Regions from separate parts of the Homo sapiens genome. Here all the other regions are linked to region 3. The links are contacts of gene promoters, found by promoter capture Hi-C in blood cells and fetal thymus (Javierre and others, 2016). All regions are on one chromosome and are shown on one strand. Each heading gives the region's core, a stretch centred on a gene start or on the middle of the fragment in contact. The rest is flanking DNA. Distances are from core to core; before and after follow the strand shown.

The links. The method cuts DNA at HindIII sites, captures the fragments that hold promoters and counts their contacts. A CHiCAGO score of 5 or more calls a contact.
Region 1: the fragment with the promoter of UBE2C here is called in contact with the fragment with the promoter of SYS1 in region 3 in 1 of 17 cell types (naive CD8 T cells); the score reaches 5.1 in naive CD8 T cells.
Region 2: a contact is called between a fragment that was not itself captured here and the fragment with the promoter of SYS1 in region 3, in 6 of 17 cell types (M0 macrophages, M1 macrophages, M2 macrophages and 3 more). The highest score is 6.8, in M0 macrophages.

The regions. Positions count from the first base shown.
Region 1 is chr20:45,811,069-45,814,181 of GRCh38, forward strand. UBE2C (ubiquitin conjugating enzyme E2 C) reads left to right here and starts at 1,576. Exons shown (of 6, transcript NM_007019.4): 1 at 1,576-1,728; 2 at 2,369-2,396. The coding sequence starts at 1,628. It overlaps DNTTIP1 (deoxynucleotidyltransferase terminal interacting protein 1), which reads left to right. Exons shown (of 13, transcript NM_052951.3): 13 at 1-350. The coding sequence ends at 127. RefSeq lists a silencer at 1,379-1,568. The HindIII fragment of the contact is 3,801 bases long and covers 1-2,658 here.
Region 2 is chr20:45,774,330-45,777,615 of GRCh38, forward strand. It overlaps WFDC3 (WAP four-disulfide core domain 3), which reads right to left. Exons shown (of 7, transcript NM_080614.2): 5 at 2,746-2,880; 6 at 1,088-1,273; 7 at 1-115. The coding sequence ends at 99. Among named protein-coding and RNA genes, the nearest start is that of WFDC3, 16 kb to the right of the region's middle. RefSeq lists an enhancer at 1,248-1,417. The HindIII fragment of the contact is 2,181 bases long and covers 197-2,377 here.
Region 3 is chr20:45,361,605-45,364,779 of GRCh38, forward strand. SYS1 (SYS1 golgi trafficking protein) reads left to right here and starts at 1,552. Exons shown (of 4, transcript NM_033542.4): 1 at 1,552-1,711; 2 at 1,925-2,089. The coding sequence starts at 1,928. SYS1-DBNDD2 (SYS1-DBNDD2 readthrough (NMD candidate)) reads left to right here and starts at 1,565. Exons shown (of 6, transcript NR_003189.2): 1 at 1,565-1,711; 2 at 1,925-2,089. LOC124904914 (a long non-coding RNA gene) reads right to left here and starts at 1,764. Exons shown (of 2, transcript XR_007067609.1): 1 at 1,464-1,764; 2 at 752-1,222. RefSeq lists an enhancer at 1,282-1,721. The HindIII fragment of the contact is 10,354 bases long and covers 1-3,175 here.

The sequences.
Region 1 (3,113 bases), core at 326-2,825, 450 kb after region 3:
TCTGAAGCTAGAGGAATTGAAATCCTTTGTCCTACCCTCCTGGATGGTGGAGAAGATGAGAAAGTATATGGAGACACTACGGACAGAGAATGAGCATCGTGCTGTTGAAGCACCTCCACAGACCTGAGGCCGGGTCCCCTGGCCACACTTGGCAGCCCTCCTCCAAAGCCCTCTTCCTCACGTGGCTGAGGCCACCGCTGGGACTGCTCCTAGATGGATCTCAGCGGCATTAAGCTGTGCCTGAGCGAGTTTGTAGTGACTCACTGCACAGCACCCCCAGACTAGCATGTGGTTCTATATTTGTAAAGTTATTGGGATAAGAAACAATTAAACAGTTTGTAGTAAACACAGATGGTGAACCTGCTGTGCCCTCTACCTTGTGGGAATTGACAGAACATCAAGGGCTCTAGAAGTGGGTGTAGGAAAAAAGGACGAGATAACCCTCACCCATAACAGTATAGAGCCAGGCTTGATAAGACCAACCTGGGAGCACCATGTACCCTGCCCGTCTTCCCTTTGCCCATTTGTAGTTTCCTTACCCAGCTAATGTAAGGACATGGCAGAATGCGATGGAGTTTGATGACAGATCATATGAAAAATAGAGTTGGCTTTTATTGCTCCCATTTTACAGGTTAAGATACTAAAGGACCCGCCCCAAGGTTACACACTACCCACTGGGGAGGTAGGATATACAGGATATGAACCTGTGTTGTTGGGGTTTTTGTTTGTTTGAAGACAGTCTTGCTCTGTTGCCCAGGCTAGAGTGCAGCCTCTGGCTCAAGCGATTCTCCCGCCTCAGCCTCGCCAGTAGCTGGGACTACAGGCTCGTGCCACCTCACCAGCCTTTTTTTTTTTTCTTTTCTTTTTTTTTTTTTTTCTTTTAAGTAGAGACAGGTCTCCCTATCCTGTTGCTCAGGCTGGTCTCGAACTCCTGGGTTCAAGTGATCCTCCTGCCTGGGCCTTCCAAAGTGTTCGGGATTACGGACGTGAGCCACTGCGACCAGCCTGAACCAATGTTGCCTTTTTTTATTTCTGTCATCTCTGCGGAGATGTATGGACCTATGTTTTCTAATAGGGAGCCTGCTGCTCTGGCCATCAGCCTTTAGTTTTTCCCCTCGCTGGGATTTTCAGATACTTAGGACGCAGCAAAGGTGCCCAGGCGATTATAATGGTGGGAGGGTACCAGTGCTGCAGGATTGGAGGCACTCCCTGCCCGAGGGAAATTGGATCAAGGCTGGGCGTGCCGAGTGTTCCCACGCGGAGTAAGACGTGTAGCCAGAAGGAGGGGTTCATCCCACGTGGACGTTTTCTTGGCCCTTTAATGGTTAGCGTTTTCCAACGGCCACCAATTCGCTACGGATTCGTTAGTTAATGGCAGCATCATCTACCAATCGGTTGTCAGAAGCGGGATTCTGCCGCCCAATAGCGGTGCGCCAGTGGGTAGGTCTAGCAGTGGCGCAGCAATAGAGCGCTCCGGAGCGTCTCATTGGCTGGATCAAACCCAAGCGAGCCATTGATTGGTCGACGCCCCCAGAGGGTTACAATTCAAACGCGGGCGGGCGGGCCCGCAGTCCTGCAGTTGCAGTCGTGTTCTCCGAGTTCCTGTCTCTCTGCCAACGCCGCCCGGATGGCTTCCCAAAACCGCGACCCAGCCGCCACTAGCGTCGCCGCCGCCCGTAAAGGAGCTGAGCCGAGCGGGGGCGCCGCCCGGGGTCCGGTGGGCAAAAGGTGAGTGATGCGGCCTACCACTCGCCGGGCCTGCCATGCCCTAGGCATTGGTACCCAGAGCAAAGATTTCTAGGACCACCCCCCGCCGCCACCTCCTGGAGCGGGAGATCTGCGGGTGCAGGAGAACACACCAGGAGCTCGGGGCCTGGCATTCCCCTGGGCATGGGTGTCGAGGGCGGAGACTTCCGGGACTCCCACCTCCTTGCGCGGGTGAGATTCGAGAGATGGGGGACAGGCCAGGAGCTCAGACCGCTCTTTGAGACTCTCCCGAAGGAGAATGGGAGGGTAGGGGCGCTGCCAGACTCCTTCCCTGGTGGGCCTAGATGAAGACGCTCAAGGACCCTCGTGACTTGGCCGAGACAGGGGAAGGGAGAAGTTGAGTCGGGCAAGGAAGAGATGCTAAAGCCTGGGGAATTAAGAACATGCCAGAATCATCCCGAGGGAGTCTGGAATTAGGGAGGGTGAGGACTCGCTAGGATCGTCCTGTGGATCTGGTGAGTATACCCTGAGCTGAGCCTGACCTTGGTGATGTGGGGAGCCTCCATGACGGCTCCCCCTGAGATTCAGGTGGGAGAAGATGCACCGTCTGGAGGCCTGGCCCATCCAGACTCCCAGGTAACCCCGAATACTCTTTTTTCAGGCTACAGCAGGAGCTGATGACCCTCATGGTGAGTGATTAAGTGCCCAGAACCCCAGCCTTCCATCCAATTTTCAGTAGCCTCCTTTTTTCCGTCAGCTTTTTTGCTAGACATAGGGGTAATGTAATTTGCTCCCTCCTGGGAAAGAAGTTCATACACCCCACCTACACCATTTCTTCCAGCAGTCCCTCCTCCCAATTCCATCCCCCCACACGAAGTTATCTCGAACACTTCCCTGAAGTCATACAAGACCCTCCCTATCCAGTGTGTCCCTACTTCCTAGCCCCAACCAAGCTTTACCCACACCCAACTCCCCGCCCTTCTTGGTATTTCTAGCCTATGAATTTGGTTGCTTTATTTTGGATCAGAGTGATGAGATTAAGGGGAGGCTGGGCGCGGTAGCTCACACCTTATAATCCCAACACTTTGGGGGGCTAAGGTGGGCGGATCACTTGAGGTCAGGAGTTCGAGACCAGCCTGGCCAACATTGCAAAACCCTGTCTCTACTAAAAATACAAAAATTATCCAGGCATGGTGGTGCATGCCTGTAATTTCAGCTACTCGGGAGGCTGAGGCACAAGAATCATTTGAACCGTGGAGACAGAGGTTGCGGTGAGCCGAGCGCACCACTGCACTCTAGCCTGGGCGACAGAGTGTGTGTGTGTGTCTGTCTCTGTCTATCTCTCTCTCTCAATCTCTCTCTCTCTCTCTCTATATATATATATATGTAAATATATATTTTTTAGT
Region 2 (3,286 bases), core at 37-2,536, 410 kb after region 3:
GCCCCTGGAAATGTCACAAGCCCCAGGATGTCACCCTCTCTTGACTGCCAGGAAAAGCTTCCAGAATTACCAAAGAAGCTCCAGACAAATCAGCACAGCTAGGGCACCGGGATCTCTGCAAGTAGAAGAAACATCAAGTCACAGCTGTGCCCTCCTGGCTTCAGCTACCTGAAATGTTTTCCCTCCACCCTAGGAAAGCTTGGCCTATATTGCTCTCAAAAGTCTTAAATAGCTCCTTGCTTCCCAGACAATCCAATCCAAACTGGCACTGAAGGCTCTTATTATTCAGATGTCAACCTTGTATCTCCTGTTATAAAAAACTGGAATTATGGTCGGGCACAGTGGCTCATGCCTGTAATCCCAGCACTTTGGGAGGCCAAGGTGGGTGGATAACCTGAGATCAGGAGCTCGAGACCAGACCTGGCCAACATGGTGAAACACTGTCTCTACTAAAAATACAAAAATCAGCTAGGTATGATGGCAGGCGCCTGTAAATCCCAGCCTTGGGAGGCTGAGGCAGGAGAATTGCTTGAATCCAGGAGGCAGAGGTTGCAGTGAGTCGAGATTGTGCCATTGCACTCCAGCCTGGGTGACAAGAGTGAAACTCCATCTCAAAAAAAAAAAAAAAAAAACTGGAGATACGTCTGTTCCTTTACCCACCCTGCCCCCACTCCTCACCTCCCAAACATATCCCACACATTCCCACCCTGTGTTCCTTTGCCAGCAATCACCAGATTGCCTATCTGGCATGTCCCTGTGCTATCCTCCCTTTGTCGCATCTGCCTAGCCTTAAGCACCTCAATCAAATCCCACCTCTCCCACAGAGACCTTCCCAGGGAGCCACACCTGGGAACAGGTGTAAGCCTGTACTGTTTATATGAGGGTTCTCATCTGGGACACAGGTTTGCCACACCTGAGAACAGGTGTAAGCCTGTACTGTTTGTATGAGGGTTTTCATCTGGGACATAGGTTCTTTCTCTCCAACTAGACTTTTCCTGACCTTCTGAAGTCCCCTTCCCAGCACCTAAGCCAGTGCTTTGCACATAGCAGTTGTCTGTTATTGTTGATGACAATGGACTGTACTCACCTAATTCGGAATCAGACCTCACAGTCCAGTTGGGGTTCATGGTCAGTTTTGGGGGCAGGACTGGTGGGACACAGAAGCGGCCACAGCCTGACTTGCAACATTTTTCTCCAGCTTGACAATTCTCATCCATCACACAGCCAACAATGCACAGGCCCACCAGAACTTTTGGACAATCACCGCCCCGCCCTGTGGGAACAACAGGCACAGGAAAAGGGACAGGGCATCAGCTCTGCCATCTCCATGTTCCCATCGTGAACTTACACACAGAGGCTCTAGGTCAATCAACCCCTGACCCTCACTAGACCCAACTAAACTGGCTGGGAAACCATGGCGCTGGAGGATCTCAGAATCTTTAGGAACCCAAGAGACCTCTGAGCCCAGAGTTTTCAAATGGTGCCCCAAAGGGAGTTCCCAAGAGGTAACTCAGGGATTGACACCTCTGCAGGTTTGGGGTGGGGGTGGGTGAAGTGTGGCAGGGGCAAGCCTCCCAGACCACTCCCCCTCCCCCTATGCTCTGGATTCATAGTGTCACTTCTTCACGGTGGCCTCCTCTGCCACCCTAGACAAGGTTTGATGTCCCTGCTTTGTGCTCCTGTAGCACCCTGTATGCTTCCTCTCATCAAACTTTATCATAATCCCTTATTTAAAAGGAATATGTCTATCTTGCCTGATGGGCTATAAGCTACATACGGACAAGAGTCTGTCCTCAGCCTTGAGCACTGCCTGGGAATCTAAAGGGACTAAGATAGCACAAGGGTCAATGATTCTTTAATGGAGATCCACAGTGCCTGGCACTCAAAAATATTTGTTTTTTTAAAATGTTGAAGAAAAAAAGGCATTGGAACAGGAATGCTTTTATCTCTGTGTGTGTGTGTGTGTGTGTGTGTGTGTGTGTGTGTGTGTGTTTCCAGCTGGGCGTGGTGGCTCACGCCTGTAATTCCAGCACTTTGGGAGGCCGAGACAGGCAGATCACGAGGTCAGGAGTTCAAGACCAGCCTGGTCAACATGATGAAAACCCATCTCTACTAAAAATACAAAAATTAGCTGGGCATGGTGGCGTGTGCCTGTAATCCCAGCTACTCAGGAGGCTGAGGCAGAAGAAACCCCAGAGGCAGAGGTTTCAGTGAGCCAAGATCACGCCACTACACTCTAGCCTGGGGTACAGACCAAGACTCTGTCTCAAAAAAAAAAAAAAAGAAAAAAAAGAAAAAAAAAAAAAATATATATATATATATATATATATATGTGTGTGTGTGTTTCCAACTAAGATTTCATTTGGGGCAGGGGAGAAGCTTTTTGTTAAAAATTAGATCTGAAAATCAGGATCTTGGGCAACTCCTTCATTTTACAGATAAAGAAATTTGGGCTCAAAAAGACGGGTTTGCTTACCTAAGGTCACAAAGCAAAACCTCAGCAGAATCAAGACCAAAAGCCACACTGTCTGTCTTCCAGCCCAAGTAGTTCCTACTGCCCCACAGTGCCTTCCCCCAGTTCTTTTAATGTCGACAGGGCCCCTCGGCCCTAGAAGAATGGGTTGCTTTGGGTTGGGGGACCAGAGGGACAGGAAGGATGAGAATCCTAGCTCCTCCCAGGAAGGGAAAGAGAAGCACTCTTCTCAGGAAACACTCAAGGATTTCTTCCCAAAAGAGCCAACATACCTCCCTCAATGTCTCCGAGGCAGGTGCGGCCACAGCCGGTGCTGCAGCATTTATGCCCCTGGGGACAGGATGCATCCCCATCACACAGCTCCTCACACGGAAGGGGGTCAGCGGGACATTCACCACCAAACTCTGCTACATAATCAAAGCATTGGAGCCCAGAGACGCTCACAATATGAAACACATTTTTCATTGTGTCCCATGTGTATGTTTATATATAGTTATATATTTATATACATATATAATGTAAATATTTATGTGTATCATGTATCTGCAATACATCTGATTTTTTTTAAGACAGGGTCTCACTGTGTTGCCCAGGCCAAAGTGCAGTGGCATAATCATAGCTCACTGCAGCCTCAAACTCCTGCATTCAAGGGATCCTCCCACCTCAGCCTCCTGAGTGGCTAGAACTACAGGCACATGCCATCATGCCTGGCTTATTTATTTATTTATTTTGTAGAGACAGGGTCTCACTGTATCACCCAGGCTAAAGTACAGTGGCACAATCATAGCTCATTGCAGCCTGAAACTCCTGTGC
Region 3 (3,175 bases), core at 302-2,801:
ACATGCGCCTGCCACCAGGCCCGGCTAATTTTCTGTATTTTTAATAGAGATGGGGTTTCACCATGTTAGCCAGGATGGTCTTGAACTCCTGACCTTGTGATCTGCCCGCCTCAGCCTCCCAAAGTGCTGGGATTACAGGCATGAGCCACTGTGCCCAGCCTAAGTTTTTTTTTTAATGAGAAAATAATTACTGGAAGGTAGATTAAATGGTGGAAAACGTTAATCATGTCCAACTCCTCATTTCATAAACAGGGAAGCTGAGGTTTAAAGAAGGAAGTGGCTTGCTGGTCACACTGGGTGGCATAGCTGGCCCTAAAACCCAAATTCTTTTCCTGGAACAACTTACTTCCCGTCTTTCCACTTCAGAGAGGGGGAACCTAGGATCAATGAAGTTGATGGGTTTTCGTCTGCTGGAGTAGGAATAAGTGAGTTATCGATTTGCTCTTGCTTTTTCTGTTCTTAACTCATTCAGCAAATATTTACTGACTGTCCACTATTCGGATTTGGAAGATAGATAAAACAGTCATGGCAGCAGAGAGGGTCAGGATTTACTCCTATGTGCGACTTCAGAACCTGTGCCTTTTTCCACTGGACACCCACATTTTAAAACACCCACTACTCTGCCTTCTAATATAGTTCATCTGTGTCTCAGGGCAGGGGCTGTCTTATATATACATGTTCTAGCCTTCCTGCCACCGAGTAGGTGCGAAATCAATGTTGTAGTGTTGAGGAAACACTTGAATTTTATTTATTTATTTATTTATTTATTTATTTATTTAGAGACGGAGTTTTGCTCTTGTTGCCCAGGCTGGAGTGCAATGGCGTGATCTCGGCTCACTGCAACCTCTGCCTCCCGGGTTCAAGCAATTCTCCTGGCTCAGCCTCCCGAGTAGCTAGGACTACAGGCGTGCGCCACCACGCCCCGCTAATTTTGTATTTTTAGCAGAGACGGGGTTTCTCCATGTTGGTCAGGCTGGTCTCGAAACACCGACCTCAGGTAATCCGCCCACCTCAGCCTCCCAAAGTGCTGGGATTACAGGCGTGAGCCACCGCGCCCGACCAACACTTGAATTTTAATACTTACTTTGCTACTAACTGTGTCGTTGAAACAGTATGTTGCTTTCCTTCTCTGGCCCTTAGCTTAACTATCTGTACAGCGGGAACATTGGCAAACTCCTACGTGGAGGAGCTTGCAGGTCCACTTCAAGTTATCAGACTCTAACTAGGAGAAAACATTGAGAATTTAGGCTGAAAATAACGACACAGTTTATCACCTCGTTAATTCCCAAACATCATTACCGCGTCCTAAGCCACCCCACTTGCCTCTCCCCTAGCCGCCTTCCTTTAAAAAAAGAATTCCCCTCTAGAGGGCGCGCAAGCTCTGCGGCCTTCGTTCCTCTCTTCCGTTTGCCTTCACTCTTCCTTCTGCGCATGTGCTCAGTTCGCTATCCGGCTGCTTGTACCTGGTTCAGGAGGTTCAGGCAGAGGTTGCACCCACTACGCCTGCGCAACCTCAGCCCCGCCCCTCCGCTGCTTTCCCCGGAAACGTTTCTTTCCTACGCAGCCGCTCCTGCCGCCGTGGTCGCTGGAGCTTTGCCTCTCTAGGCCGGCAGCGCCTCTCCTCCATGGTCCTGTCTGTCAGCGCTGTTTTGGGAGCCCGCCGGTGAGGCCGGGCCACGCTCAGACACTTCGATCGTCGAGTCTGTCACTGGTGAGTAGACCCCAGAGGAGCTCGTGTACGGGCGGGGGCCGCGCAGGCGGAATGGGCTGGATTTCCCCTCACTCTGAGAATGGGTCTGTCTGCCCCGCCTTCCCCCTGACTCTTGGAATGGGCTCACCCCTTGGTTCCAGTCCCTCCTCCCGGGCGGGGCGACGTTGCCATGGAGACAGGCCGCTGGCTGAGGCCCGGCTCGTGTCCCTGCAGGGCATGGCGGGTCAGTTCCGCAGCTACGTGTGGGACCCGCTGCTGATCCTGTCGCAGATCGTCCTCATGCAGACCGTGTATTACGGCTCGCTGGGCCTGTGGCTGGCGCTGGTGGACGGGCTAGTGCGAAGCAGCCCCTCGCTGGACCAGATGTTCGACGCCGAGGTAGGGTCCCCGGACTGGGGCGGGTGGGGTCTCGGCCTCCCCGAGTAGGCTTTGTGGTCCATCACTACTGTGCTGTAGACGTGGCTGGGTCACCTTCTTTCTTTGTAGCCCTGGGAAAGGGATTTCACCTTTCTGAGCCTCAGCTGCCTCATCCATAAAATGGAATGACAGCAGAGGCTGATTAGTACAAAGAAAAGGGCCTGGATGTTAATACAATAAACACGTCTGTGTTCCAGGCAACTCTGATACATTTCCTTTCTGATACTCTGGGAAAGTGACTTGATTTCTCTGAGCTAGGTTCTCAGGTGCCACATCGGAGAGAGGGGTGGATAAAAGAGCATTCGTGCGGGTACAGTGGAAACTGCCTGGACTTTGGGGTCAGACAGGCGTCCGTTTAAGATCCACTTACTAGCTGTGTGACCTGGGGCAAATGTCACCTCTGTGAACTTGTTTTCCTGTCTTCAAAACCATGAGACTAGTTGCAGAGAGGTCGTGGACTGCAATATAAAGAGCATGTGCTTTGGGTTCAGAAAAGCAAGGGTTCAGTCTAGGCCTAAACATATAAAACTAGCTGTGGGACCTTGGGCAAGTTGCTTCCCCTTTCTGAGCCTTTTCTGAAAAGTGGGCCGGATGCTCCTACCATGTTGCCCTCAACAAAATGTTACAAGGCCCAGAGGGGTTTAGGAATAAGAAGGTACTTTGTAAAGTGTAAAGGAGGCCTATAAGTTGTTACATCTAAGAGGCAGCTGTGGCGTGGTGATGAGCACAGTTCTTTTTTTTTTTTTTTTTTTTTTTTGAGACGGAGTCTCCCTCTGTCGCCCAGGCTGGAGTGCAGTGGCAGGATCTCGGCTCACTGCAAGCTCCGCCTCCCGGGTTCACGCCATTCTCCTGCCTCAGCCTCCCAAGTAGCTGGGACTACAGGCGCCCGCCACTACGCCCGGCTAATTTTTTGTATTTTTAGTAGAGACGGGGTTTCACCGTTTTAGCCGGGATGGTCTCGATCTCCTGACCTCGTGATCCGCCTGCCTCGGCCTCCCAAAGTGCTGGGATTACAGGCGTGAGCCACCGCGCCCGGCCGAGCACAGT